Linked DNA regions of Homo sapiens: all the other regions are linked to region 1. Evidence: promoter capture Hi-C in human tissues and cell types (Jung and others, 2019). All regions are on one chromosome and are shown on one strand. Each heading gives the region's core, a stretch centred on a gene start or on the middle of the fragment in contact. The rest is flanking DNA. Distances are from core to core; before and after follow the strand shown.

Region 1 (4,536 bases), core at 13-2,512:
CACTAATTTAAAAGGTTAGCTATTTAGGGCATCAGTAAATAGAACATTATCATATGACAGGGCCATTTATTCAATAAATATTTTTGAGTGCCTATTATGTTCAAGGCATTGTATTAAATACGGAAGAATTCAGTGAACAGTGAACAGAAAAATAGCAATAGCGGCAGCAAAGTTCCACTGGATGCGTATCACAAGCCAATGCTAAGTTCTTTATAGTGCATTTCATTCCAACCTGGGAACAACAGCAGGAGGTATGAGATGACTATTTGTATACCAGTCTTAGAGCTGAGAAAACTGAGGATTAAAGAGGTTAATTAACTTGTCTAAGATTGCATAGTTACTGAGTGACAAGAGATGGAGTTTGTGTTTTTGCAGGACTGTCCTCAAGTACTTGCTCTTATTCTCTACTTCCTCAGAATACACAGAACCTGTCCTCAGAACGCGTGTAGTTTGGTAGCAAAACAAGAAATAGACAGGCAATTAAAATACTGTGACTGGAGCTACAATAGAGGAAAACCCAGAACCCTATCTAGGCACAAAGGAGAGTCCAATTCTCACGGGACTTGTGGATGGAGTTGGGAGTATGTCCAAAAAATACTTTAAATGTTTCAAAAATTTAACACGAAGTACGAATACTGTTTTTAAAAAGCATAAAGGAGGAGTAACAGTTTTACTAAATGTCATTTTATGAAGTTCCCCTTAAAGGGATGAAAGAAAAAAAAAACCCCGTATAACTAAATAAAATCTTTGGAATTTTAAGCAGAAAACCTGGATTTATGGAGACATCAAAACCAAACACAACTTTTGGCATTACAGTATATGGGCAAAATACACGCCATATGATTGGATCCTTAAGGGCAGCACATCCTACCCGGAAAGCTGCCTACTTAACAATACCAAAGGCTTACTCAAAGAGGCACGTGAATCTTTCGCATGGAATACTTTTGGAACCCAGACCGAAGTGCCCAGGGGTTAATCACGGCGCCGGTCTTACAGCACCCTCAGCGGCTTCAGCCCTGAGACTCTGCAGGTGAAGGCTCGGGGGGTGTGGACGGGACCCCACACCGCGCCGCCCGCCGACTCACTTCTTGCGGACTTCTTCCAGCAACTGCTGTTTCAGGCGGTTGGTGCTCACACCGTCGAAGTTGTAGTTTCTCTCTTCCTTCATAGTGTCAGGCCAGAGACCTCCCGCGTCTTTCCCCTCAGCACCTTAGAGCACAAGACATTAAGGGCCACCCAGAAGCCAGTACGGCACGAGGCGGTGAACCCCAACCGCCCCCCGGTCGCACCTCCCGCGCCTGCCCGCAGAGGCACGTGGTGACGTCATAAAGCGATGCCCGCAGGCGGCAGGGGGTGGGGCGAGGGCAGCCGGGGAGACTGGAGAAGCCTACTCTGTGCGGTGGAGCGACCCTGGATAACAGCTCCAGGGACACTCCTTGCTCAAGACGCTGGGGTTAGACGTGCTCCGGCTACACAGCGGAGTGTCAGGGGGCCAAGAATATCCCTCTCCTTTTTCTTCCCTCCTGCTGGCTTTGGTTGCTTTCCTAAACATTGCCCCGGACGGCAAAGTCGGCTTCACTCTTAGCCCTTGTTAGGGAAACGCTGGATCCAAGATTAGCTGCGCCCTTCTTTGCTTCAGTTGAACAAGCACCAGAGTCGCTGATTTGGCAGTGTCGGAGCGGGAGGAACTGGTCTTAAAAAGGTACCTCCTGAACTCGGGAAGACTGCTAACCCTCCAGATTATTGTTTTGCATCTGTGTGCTGTTCATGAACATACCTCAGAGCTGCTCACTGCAACTTGAAATTTCATTATATTTTTAATCACAAAGTTTGCATCCTACCCTTGATACATCTGTGTTTCCTTGACAAAAAGAGACAAACTCTGTAAAATATTTGAAGAGATTTATTCTGAGCCAAATGAGTGACCAATGGCGGGTGACAGCCCTCAGGAGATTCTGAGAACACGTGCCCAAGGTGGTCAGGGTACAGCTTAGTTCTATACATTTTAGGGAGACATGGGACATCAATCAAATGCATGTTAAGATATACACTGGTTCCATCGGGAAAGGCAGGGCAATTGGAAGGGGTGGGGGACGGGGTGGCTTCCAGGTCACAGCTAGATTCAAAGATTTTCTGATTGGCAATTGGTTGAAAAGTTACTGACTAAAGACTTAGGAATGTCTTTAGAGAATAAAGGGGTTGTGGAGACCAAGGTTTTAGTGAGAATGGGATAATTGGTGTGGAAAACACAATTTGGTGTCAGAAGTGTTGTGAATACATAGTTTTCCAATTGAGTTTCTGGATGAGATTAACATTTCAATTGGTAGACTGAGTATAGTACATTGTCTTCCCCAATGTGGGTGGGCCTCAGCCAATCGACCGAAGACAGAATAGAACAAAAAGGCTGACCTCCCAGGAGTAAGAGGGAGCTCCTACAGCCAAACAGCTTGAGCTGGAACACTTTTCCAGCCTTGGGCTCAGACTGGGACTGCACATCAGTTTGCTTGCATCTCCAGCTTGTCAACTGCAGATCCTGAGACTTCTCAGCCTTCATAATTGTACGGGCAAATTCCTTATAATAAATCTTTTATACACACACTCCCTATTGGTTCTGTTTCTGTGAATTACCCTAATATAGGAGGTATGCTTATCAAAATTTTGTCTAGCTGTTAAGTCTGAAAGGGCAACTCACAACCAAGTAAACAGAATAGAATGAAGTGAAAAGGACTAGATTATCTGTTGACAAATCCAAATATACAGAGGATTTCTTTTTTGAGACGGAGTCTCATCTGTCTCCCAGGCTGGAGTGCAGTGGCACAATCTCAGTTTACTGCAAACTCCACTCCTGTGTTAAAGCAATTCTCCTGCCTCAGCCTCCCAAAGTAGCTGGGACTACAGGCACGCACCACCATGCCTGGCTTAATTTTTTTGTGTATTTTTAGTAGAGATGGGGTTTCACCATATTGCTCAGGCTGGTCTTGAACTCCTGACCTCGTGATCCACCCACCTCTGCCTCCCAAAGTGCTGGGATTATAGGCATGAGCCACTGCACCCGACCCAGAGGATTTCTTAAAAAGATCTGTTAGCAGGATCTCACTGTGGGAAATTAGGAGCAAAGGCAAGCAGAAAACAGGTTTGTCAACAACTACAGAAACCACAGATTTGTGTTTCTGGCAGAGATAAAGGACCTGAATTTACCCTCCTGCCTGAAACAACTAAAAAACTAAGAGGAACAAAAAAAGAACATTGAACATCAGGCAATAAGGGAAAACGATCACCAAGAGATGAGACACAAATGAGGCAAGCTCCCAAATTGGCCTGGGCCTGCCAGGGTACAAAGCAGAAAGGGAGAAAACAGGCAGAGGCTGGTGGTTGCCCTAAGTTGAGGAAACGGAGTTTCTCTAAGAGTCTAGAGAGAACAAGGCAGCTAGACTTTGCAGGGCAGATATTGGAGGGGAGAGCTGCACAGGGTGTTCCCAGACCAAACTGAGGGTTGGGTTGCTATTTCTTGTGACCCAGTAAGAACATGTAGATGAACTGGGGAGGAAGAGAGTTTTTATTTCTGGAACCAGTTACAGGCAGAAGCCCTGGAAACTATAACCAGACCAACTCAAAATTACAGTTTTCCAGACCTTCTAAGCTATATGTCTATGTGTAAGTGTGCATTCATCTATAGACATTAAGTGGTTAACTTTTTATAATCTACAACTAAGGTCTTGAGTCCTGAAGACCTTCCTCTGGAGCCTCAGTAAACTTAATCTAAATGGGTCCAGGTGCTAGGGTGATTACCCCTGTCTCCTGCTAAATCAGGGAGGTTTGGGGATTCCTTCAGAACCCCAAAAAACTTGTTTAATCCTAAATGGGTCCAGCTAAGAATTCCTTCTTTTTTTTTTTTTTTTTTTTTGTCATGCTTTGAGACCTAGTTCTTGGTGGGTTTTTATTACATTCCAGCCTTTGTATAAGGGCTTTGGTTTTTTTAGCTTTTAGTATTTAACTTAGCCACTCAAGTCAGTACTGAAACAGTTGTTATGGAGGCCTGTGTTAATGAGACCTGGCCTGCCACAAGGTACACTCTGCAGCAGAATACTGATGAATGCACACACATGGTGGGGCAAGTACTCAGGCTGGGGAAAGAACCATCACAAAGGATTAGAGGGGAAATCCTTACAGTTTACAGAGGTAGGAATAATACCTGCTACCACCCACCAGAATGGAAAACCTCTGAATTCACAGGGCATCAGGTACACAAAGGATTTTGATTTAGGAGTCGGAAAAAACACTAGCCCTAACAAGTTGAAAAGAAAGATCCAAAAGTATCCAACTGGTTCTAAGTAACTTAATCCCCTCCCAAGACAAAACTCGAGAATATTTATAGGAACACAAAACATCCAGTACCCAATAAGGTAAAATTCACAATGTCCAACAATATCTTTAGTCTCGTTATGTTGCCCAGGCTGGTCTCAAACTCCTCGACTCGAGAGATCCACCCAACCTCAGCCTCCCAAAGTGTTGGGATTACAGGTGTGCACCTCTGCA
Region 2 (4,303 bases), core at 1,751-4,250, 530 kb after region 1:
ATATTTTACTACTCCCCCATTTGTTTTGGTTGCCAACTGGGTAAAAAGCTATCAGATATCTTATTGAGCAGTATATAATTTGCCTCTGAGTTCATATATTTCATCCAAAGGCAAGCAGATTATGTTTCGGCCTGGATAGCATTATATAAAGAGAATGGTCAATTCCACTTGGCATTTTTTGTAATATTGAAAATAGCTCACAAGTAACTCTGCCTCAATCTTAGTGGCCCACCTCTCACAGTATTACTATATCACACTCTATCACACACACTATTAATTTTGAGACCTGCCAAGAGACTAAAGAACCCAGGTTGAAAATCTGGGGGGAGAGGGAGCGAGGAGGAATGTTACATTAAATTAACTGCCAATACTTTGCCTATGATAATGAAGAACTTTCCCAGAGTTGCCCAGAGACTGGGCAAGAAGAAGGAAGAAATGCAAAGACCTGTTCATTACATCTTTGAAATACCTGTAATCATGACTTATTACGTTAACTGTTTATCTATTTGCATTTTTATCATTTATCCCAGGAAAGTGCAGATAACATACTCTCCATTGTTAAACAAAGAACAGGATCTTTTGGGGATCGTCCTGCAAGACCTACTCTTTTAGAACAAGTGTTAAATCAAAAAAGACTGGTAAATATCTGTTTGTAAATCAGTTATAAATGTGTTAACAAACGTTTGTTATAAATGGAACAATTGAGATTTTTGAGATTTTTAGCTCATGACATCACACTATACATCAAAATAAATTCCTAATAAGTCAAAATTTTAAAAAAAGAATCGGAACTTTACCTCAAAAATGTAATGAGATTTTTTTTAGCTTATATAGACAAAATCACAGAGAAAAGATTATAAACTTGACTACATAAAAATGAATGCTATAGTCAAAAATGGTGGCAAATTGCACAATGACCTAGAGCAAAAATATGTACAACAAATATAAAAGACTATGGTTAACGTGTCTGGTATTTTATCACATAAAATATTCCTGGTTGGGCATTGTGGTTCATGCCTGTAATCCTAGCACTTTGGGAGGCCAGGTGGGAGGATCACTTGAGGCTGGGAATTTGAGACCATTCTGGGCAACGTAGCGAGACCCCATCTACAAAAAAATTTAAAAATTAGCCGAGTGTGATGGTATGTAGCTGTAGTCCTGGCTACTCAAGAGGCTGAAACAGGAGGATTGCTTGAGTCCAGGAATTCGAGGCTGCAATGAGCTATGATCATACCACTGTACTCCAGCCTAGGCAACAGAGCACCCTATAAATCATTAAACATGATCAGTTTCCTTACATATATATAAAATATGTTTGCCTCTTTGACAGCTTCAGTCTTAACTGCAAAGAAAGTTTATTACAAAAATTCCTGTAATTTGATGAGGAAAACCTTTGGCTTCAATACATTGCAAAAGATAGAAACAGAAAAAAAAGGCAGAATACCATTAAATGATATGGAAAGGTATTCAATATCAGTAAAAATAAACAAAAAGTGAAAATTATTTAAACGATTACGCACAATGATGCAGTGATGTGGAGACTTTCATGAAATGGACATTCTCAAGTAGTTAATGGCATTATATATTGGTATGGCACTTTCAGAAAGCAGTTGGGCAATATGTACCAGGAGTCATCCCTTTCAACTCAGACATCACATTTAATATGAAGACATTTACAGAATGTAAATCCTAAATATGGATAGAGTTAAACATAAAGGTATTGCCAGGAATATATTTCTCATAAATAGTAAAAAAGGTAGTTGAAACAGCCTAAATGTCCAACAGTGTCATAACAGCTAAGATGATTTTTAAATAAAACTGTTTAATAAATAGAAAATGTACTAAGATATAATACATATAATCTGAAAGTCAGTATTTAATGATAGTATGTTCACTTTATTCAGTTTATCTTTTTGCAGCTTATTGGGGCCAAAGATTTTTTTCTCTATAAATTTATGTAAGTATTTTATTATAAAAACCTATTACAGGAGACTGTGGCAGGATGATTGCTTGAGCCGAGGAGTTCAAGACTGCAGTGAGCTATGCTCACGCCACTGCACTCCAGCGTGGGGAACAGAGTGAGACCCTGTCTCTAATAATAATATGTTAATCATAGTCTGTTATATTTGTTATATTATTACAACTATATTTTAAAGTGATGAGTGTACAAAAAGGTATTGGATGTTTTAGAGCAGTTATATTTTTTCCTGAAATTTTGGTATATACCGATATATATGTACATATATATATATACACACCTATACACACAATTTTTAATTTCTTTATGAAGACTTAGTTGCCTAATGAGAAACTTGACTTCTAGCACTAGTTTGTATGTATGTACAAACTGGCATTTAGCTGCTATTTTCACATGTGGCCCCCTTTCATCTCCATTTTTTTTCTTGCTATAATCCTGGGTCAGTGCTACTTTTAGCTCTTTGTTCTTACATATTTCAAGAGAGTATATTTGCTGGCATATTAGAGAAGGTGTTTCCTTTTTACACAAAGTCACCAATAACAGACTTCACCCGTTATTTTTAGGTTTTAGTATTTTGATGTGTGACATCACATTATTTTTAGTTTGCAGCTTAGTTGCAGTGCATCCGATGTAAAAGTGCTTTTGATTCAGGCATATTCTTGTGAACATATTGTATCATATGTAGGGACACATCAGAGTAATTAGCATGAAAACAGTCTAATGACATAGATTAATGCTATTAATAATTTTTTTCTTTTCTTTCTAAGTCGTTACTAAGAAGTCCAGAAGTAGTGCAATTTTTACAGAAACAGCAACAGCTATTAAATCAGCAAGTTTTGGAGCAAAGACAACAGCAGTTTCCAGGAACATCAATGTGAGGGAACTTACCAAGAACATCTACATGGTTTTTTATCTTATTGTAATAGATGAGCATATTTTTTTACCAGACATAAATGGGGTAATAATCTATGCCTGTAGAACATAAACATTTTCCTGTAAATGTATGTGTGCATTTGGGGATAAGTAAGTATTGCACTTTGTGCATCTAATCTTTCAGATTACTGTGAGTTTGAAGAAGTCAGCTTATCTTTCCAAATAACATTTAATTATAATGTTTTTTAAAAAATATATTCCTCTTCAGTCATTGTTACTGAAGGTAATGAAGCAGTTACTTTCTGTGGAAGTCATAAAGTTAATAGATATTAATCTTGACTCATCTAGCTCAGTGGTTCTCATCAAGGGTCAATTTGATTGTCATAGTGACCTTGAAAACCACTGGCTTTTAGTGAGTGGCCAGGAATGCTAAATGTTCTGCAGTGTCAGGGGTAGTCCCACATACTAAAGATTGTCTCACCCGCAGTGCCAATAACACTCCTAAGAAATGTTGATGGCTATTTTGTGGTGCTAACATGTAGTTGGGGCACCTATAATTGGGTTCTCTTAATAACCTTTCTTTGCAGTTAAGACTGAAGCTGTCAAAGAGGTAAGCACATTTTATATAGACGTAAGGAAAGTGATTATTGTTTAATATCTGTGAATTTAGGATGTGCATCTCTTTTCAGAGGTGTGTTAGTAAAACCTGACGGATTAACTAAGCACACTGGGATGTGTCTCCTACAGTTGGCTTCTCTCTTTGATGTTACCTGTTAGTGCTGATCTCTTAAAGCAGACATTTCTTGTTTGTTGAATTTGTGAACAGTATAGATCTCAGCCCACCAATGCCAAGACAAAATTATTTTTCTTATACTTATTTTTTATTAAACAAAATGAAAAAGATCCTTTTCAAAAAGGTGATCCTGAAAATAAAACTAACACTCCAGTATTTTGTCATTGTTTTTCGCAATTGAGCTATCTGAAAACTGTTATTCCTAAGTAATGTTCAAAAATGATAAGTAATCTGGATACCTTTTTCTTATACTTTCTCCTAGGAAAACTTTAAAACTTTAAAAAGGCAAACCTACCAATAGGAATAACAAATTAAATGTCAAGAGAGTATATCCAATATTAGGATATAAATGTATGTGTCTCAAGTTTAACTCTACAAAAATTTGTTACTTGTTTTTTAAACTCTATATATAAAGTTCGACTTAATCATGGCTGTTCTAAGAAGTACTTATGGAGAGCAAGAACGTTTTTGTTCATTTCTTAATGTGTGTGTTTTTACTTGCATATCTGTTCAAAACACTTTTAACAAAATTAATTCATTAAAGTCCAGTTGTTGACCTTTGAGTTAGCTGATTTCTTTATTCTGTTCTTTAGTTTATTCTTACTAGATGCAGAGGAATTCATCTACTGTCTGTTATTAACTGTTAGTTTATTCTCATA
Region 3 (4,526 bases), core at 1,934-4,433, 560 kb after region 1:
TGGGCTGATAGCAAGGCTGGTCCTCCAAGACTGCCCCTGATGACCAAGTTTCTCAGGACAACATGATAAACAAGCTTGTTTGGGTCCAACTGTACTACACGGCATGTCCCATACTGTCACTCAAACACGCAGCCACTCTGCCTGGGCTGCACTGTGAGGTGTCTCCCTTACCACTGCTGCTGCCTTCCAGAGCACCCTTACACACCATGCCCACCCCATCCTCACAGGATCAAGAAAGCCCACTATAGAAAATTTAGAAAATACAGACAGAAAAGAAAAATCAGCCACAAATCCACAGCCCAGAAATAATCAAAGCTAACATCTATTAGTTATTAGCTATTAACATTTTTCAGTCTTTTTTATGTGTTTTTGAGACAGTCTCCTGCCTAGTTGGGGCTACAGATGCACGCCGCCATACTCAGCTAACTTTTTGGTATTTTTTGTAGTGACAGGGTCTCACCATGTTGCCCACCTGGTCATGAACTCCTACGCTCAAGCAATCCACCCACCTCGACCTCCCAAAGTGCTGGGATTACAGGTGTGAGCCACCATGCTCAGCCATGTGCATTTTTAAGAAGAAAATTGGGATCATACTCTACAGGATGTTTTAAAACTTGTTTTCAGTTAATAATATCTTGTGAACATTTTCTCAGGATATTAAGTATTCTGCAACATCAAGTTTAATGACTGTAACAGTGTGACATTGCATCCTATGTTAAAATATTTTTTAGGATTTGCTTTTTTTAAGATGAGAAGCCTTACATGTGTTCAGAGGCAGAACAAAAGGACTATTTTGAGACAGGGAAGTGAAATCCATTGGGAAAGGAAGCAACCCAAATACCACCTGGACATGCAGACCCTCTGCCCAAGGAGTTTGAAACAGAGTGACTCCGTCTTGAGTAGAAGCTGGGTAAAATAAGGCTAAGACCTACTGGGCTGCATTCCCAGACGGGTAGGCATTCTAAGTCATAGGATGAGATAGGTTGGCACAAGATACAGGTCATAAACACCTTGCTGATGAAACAGGCTGCAATAAAGAAGCTGGCCAAAACCAAGATGGCGATGAGAGTAACCTCTGGTCATTCTCACTACTACACTCCCACCAGTGCCATGACAATTTACAAATGCCATGGCGAACATGGTAACATCAGGAAGTTACCCTATATGGTCTAAAAAGGGGAGGCATGAATAATCTACCCACTGTTTAGCATATAATCAGGAAATAACCAGCCAGGCACGGTGGCTCACGCCTGAAATCCCAGCACTTTGGGAAGCCGAGGCGGGTGGATTGCCGGAGGTCGGGAGTTTGAGACCAGCCTGAGCAATGTGGAGAAACCCCATCTCTACTAAAAATACAAAATTAGGAGGGCATGGTGGCACATGCCTGTAATCTCAGCTACTCAGGAGGCTGAGGCAGGAGAATCGCTTGAACCCGGGAGGCAGAGGTTGAGGCGAGCCGAGATTGTGCCATTGCACTCCAGCCTGGGCAACAAGAGCGAAACTCCATCTCAAAAAAAAAAAGAAAAAAGAAAAAAAAGAAATAACCATAAAAATAGGCAACCAGTAGCCCTGGTGGCTGCTTTGTCCATGGAGCAGCCATTCTTTATTCCTTTCCTTTCTTAATAAACTTGCCCTCACTTTACTCTATGGATTTGCCTTAAATTCTTTCTTGTGAGAGATCTAAGAACCTTCTTTTGGGGTCTGGGTCAGGACCGCTTTCCGGTAACATCTCTGCAAGGAGCTGACTGGTGAAATCCTTATGTCAAGATAATTCCTTTCATAAAACAAGAAGAATTACTAGAATTATACAGAACTTGAGATATACAAGAAAATAAAGATTCATAAAATGGTTTAAAAAAAGCCCAATTCCAAAAACAATGCAATGATTTGGAATATGTGATAATTATTTTCAGGATACGCTTGATCTATCTCAGAAAGTTCAATAACCAGGGTTAATGGTTATCACTTATTTTCTCCCACAAAGGGAGAAATTTTTTTACCTTTTTTTTTTTTTTTTGAGATGGAGTCTCGCTCTGTCGCCCAGGCTGGAGTGCAGTGGCACCAACTCGGCTCACTGCAAGCTCTGCCTCCTGGGTTCACGCCACTCTTCTGCCTCAGCCTCCCGAGTAGCTGGGACTACAGGTGCCTGCCACCACGCCCGGCTAATTTTTTTTTGTATTTTTTAGTAGAGACGGGGTTTCAGTGTGTTAGCCAGGAGGGTCTCGATCTCCTGACCTCATGATCCACCCGCCTCGTCCTCCCAAAGTGCTGGGATTACAGGCATGAGCCACCACGCCCGGCCACCAGCGTGTCTCTTAGATATTAGGTAATCAGTGGGGGTAGCTATCATCATCATCATATTATTATTATTTGATATGTCATTGTAGAGAGTTCAAGTGGTCTGCCTAGTTTCTAAGGAAGAATATGGATAGATCCCACACTGGAATGAGATGTTCCAGGCTGCCCAAGGTATTGCCTTTGACATTTAAGTGGTAGCTTTTGGTGTGCTAGTGCTAACTGTTAGTAGCTATTTAAAGCATCTTGCTAGTGAGGTCAAAGTCATAAGTTCAGTCCCTTTGTACCAGTTAACTGCTGCATGGCTACAAATAAATGCTTTCTACCAGCCCCTCTACCTCAGGGACATACCCACTAGATGGTAAGTGGGGTAAATGAGGACCCATCATCACCACTAGAGAAAACAAAACTCAAAATGCACGCAGTGCTGACAGGGTGGCAACATGACCTTCCTTTAGCAGGGCCAGCCATTTAGCTAATTTAAGTCACAAGGAATAAAAGCCAGAAATGGTGTGAAGGCTAATTGATATCTACTGGGTAGGGGAATGGCTCATCATTAACTATAATAAAAAGAATTTTTTTTTTTTGAGATGGAGCCTTGCACTATTGCCCAGGCTGGAGTGCAATGGCACAGTCTTGGCTCACTGCAACCTCCACCTCCTGGGTTCAAGTGATTCTCCTGCCTCAGCCTCCTGCGTAGCTGGTATTACAGGCACCCGCCACCACACCCGGCTAATTTTTTGTATTTTTAGTAGAGACAGAGTTTCACTATGTTGGCCAGGCTGGTCTCGAACTCCCGACCTCAGGTGACCTGCCTGCCTTGGCCTCCCAAATTGCTGGGATTACAGGCATGAGCCACTGCGTCTGGTCACTAAAAAGAATTTTTAAAAATGATATATTCAGGCCAGGTGGGGTGGCTTACACCTGTAATCCCAGCACTTTGGGAGGCCAAGGCAGGGGATCACCCGAGGTCAGGAGTTCGAGACCAGCCTGGCCAACATGAAGAAACCCTTTCTCTACTAAAAATACAAAAATTAGCTGGGTGTGGTGGTGTGCGCCTGTAATCTCAGCTACTCAGGAGGCTGAGACAGGAGAATCGCTTGAACCCTGGAGGCAGAGGTTGCAGTAAGCTGAGATCGTTTCATTGTACTCCAGCCTGGGTGACAGAGCAAGACTCCCGTCTCAAAAAAAAAAAAAAATCTTCCATCCTTGCCCATCACCGTCTAATTAATCTCAATAGAACAGCCAGGCAATCTTTTCGAAAGTGTAAAGTCAGATCATATTGTAAACCAAAAATAAAACTGGAAGGCCCCGCAACAATTTGAATGGACCCCCTCTCCTCAGCCAGGGAGCTCTAAAATTTAACCTGACAGACTGGTTCAGGCTCCACGAACACTGACTTCCTTGCTCTCTGTGTCACAGCCATTTGAACCAGAGCAACTCCATCTTGAATAGGGGCTGAGTAAAATAAGGTGGAGACCTACTGGGCTGCATTCCCAGGATGCTAGGAATTCTTAGTCACAGGATGACATAGGAGGTTGGCACGAGATACAGGTCACAAAGACCCTGCTGGTAAAACAGAGTGCCATAAAGAAGCCAGCCAAAACCCACCCAAACCAAGATGGCATTAAAGTGACCTCTAGTCATCCTCACTGCTCATTATATGCTAATTATAATGCATCAGCATGCTAAAAGACACTCCCACTAGCACCATGACAGTTTACAGATTCCATGGCCGTGCCCAGGTTACCCTATATAGTCTAAAAAGGAAATGAACCCTCAGCTCCAGGAAATCTCCACCCCTTTCCCAGAAAACTCATGAAAAAGGAAAAAGTCCACCCTTTGTTTAGCATATAATCAAGAAATAACTACATTATCAGTCGAACAGCCCATGCTGCTGCTCTGCCTGTGGAGTAGCCATTCTTTTGTTTCTTTACCTCTCTAATAAACTTGCTTTCAGTTTACTCTATGGACTCACCCCAAATTCTTTCTTGTGTGAGTTCCAAGAATCTTCTCTTGGGGTCTGAATCGGGACACCTTTCTGGTAACATCTTCTCAAATGTCACTTTTCCAGGAAGGCCTTCCCTGGTTACGCTGGTTTAAAGTCTCCATTCTCTTCCCCTGCTTTGTGTTTCTCTATTGGACATACTGTATGTTGTATTTCGTGTCTGTCTTTCCCCAGCAGCAAGCAATCCAGGAAGCCTGCTCATGGTCTTTCTTCCACTGTTGCA

Evidence for each region. Contacts are between HindIII fragments. The study calls those that stand out against the background at their distance.
Region 2: a fragment that was not itself captured here is called in contact with the fragment with the promoter of CCDC169 in region 1 in 1 of the 25 tissues and cell types used here (dorsolateral prefrontal cortex).
Region 3: a contact is called between a fragment that was not itself captured here and the fragment with the promoter of CCDC169 in region 1, in 1 of the 25 tissues and cell types used here (mesendoderm cells).

The regions. Positions count from the first base shown.
Region 1 is chr13:36,296,552-36,301,087 of GRCh38, forward strand. CCDC169 (coiled-coil domain containing 169) reads right to left here and starts at 1,263. Exons shown (of 8, transcript NM_001144981.3): 1 at 1,086-1,263. The coding sequence starts at 1,168. It overlaps CCDC169-SOHLH2 (CCDC169-SOHLH2 readthrough), which reads right to left and starts at 1,263. Exons shown (of 16, transcript NM_001198910.2): 1 at 1,086-1,263. RefSeq lists enhancers at 890-1,851, 1,852-2,814. The HindIII fragment of the contact is 10,512 bases long and covers 1-4,536 here.
Region 2 is chr13:36,824,898-36,829,200 of GRCh38, forward strand. RFXAP (regulatory factor X associated protein) reads left to right here. Exons shown (of 3, transcript NM_000538.4): 2 at 531-638; 3 at 2,746-4,207. The coding sequence ends at 2,856. Among named protein-coding and RNA genes, the nearest start is that of RFXAP, 7.8 kb to the left of the region's middle. The HindIII fragment of the contact is 6,804 bases long and covers 1-4,303 here.
Region 3 is chr13:36,858,451-36,862,976 of GRCh38, forward strand. All of the region lies in intron 5 of SMAD9 (SMAD family member 9), which reads right to left. Among named protein-coding and RNA genes, the nearest start is that of RFXAP, 41 kb to the left of the region's middle. The HindIII fragment of the contact is 6,808 bases long and covers 1-4,526 here.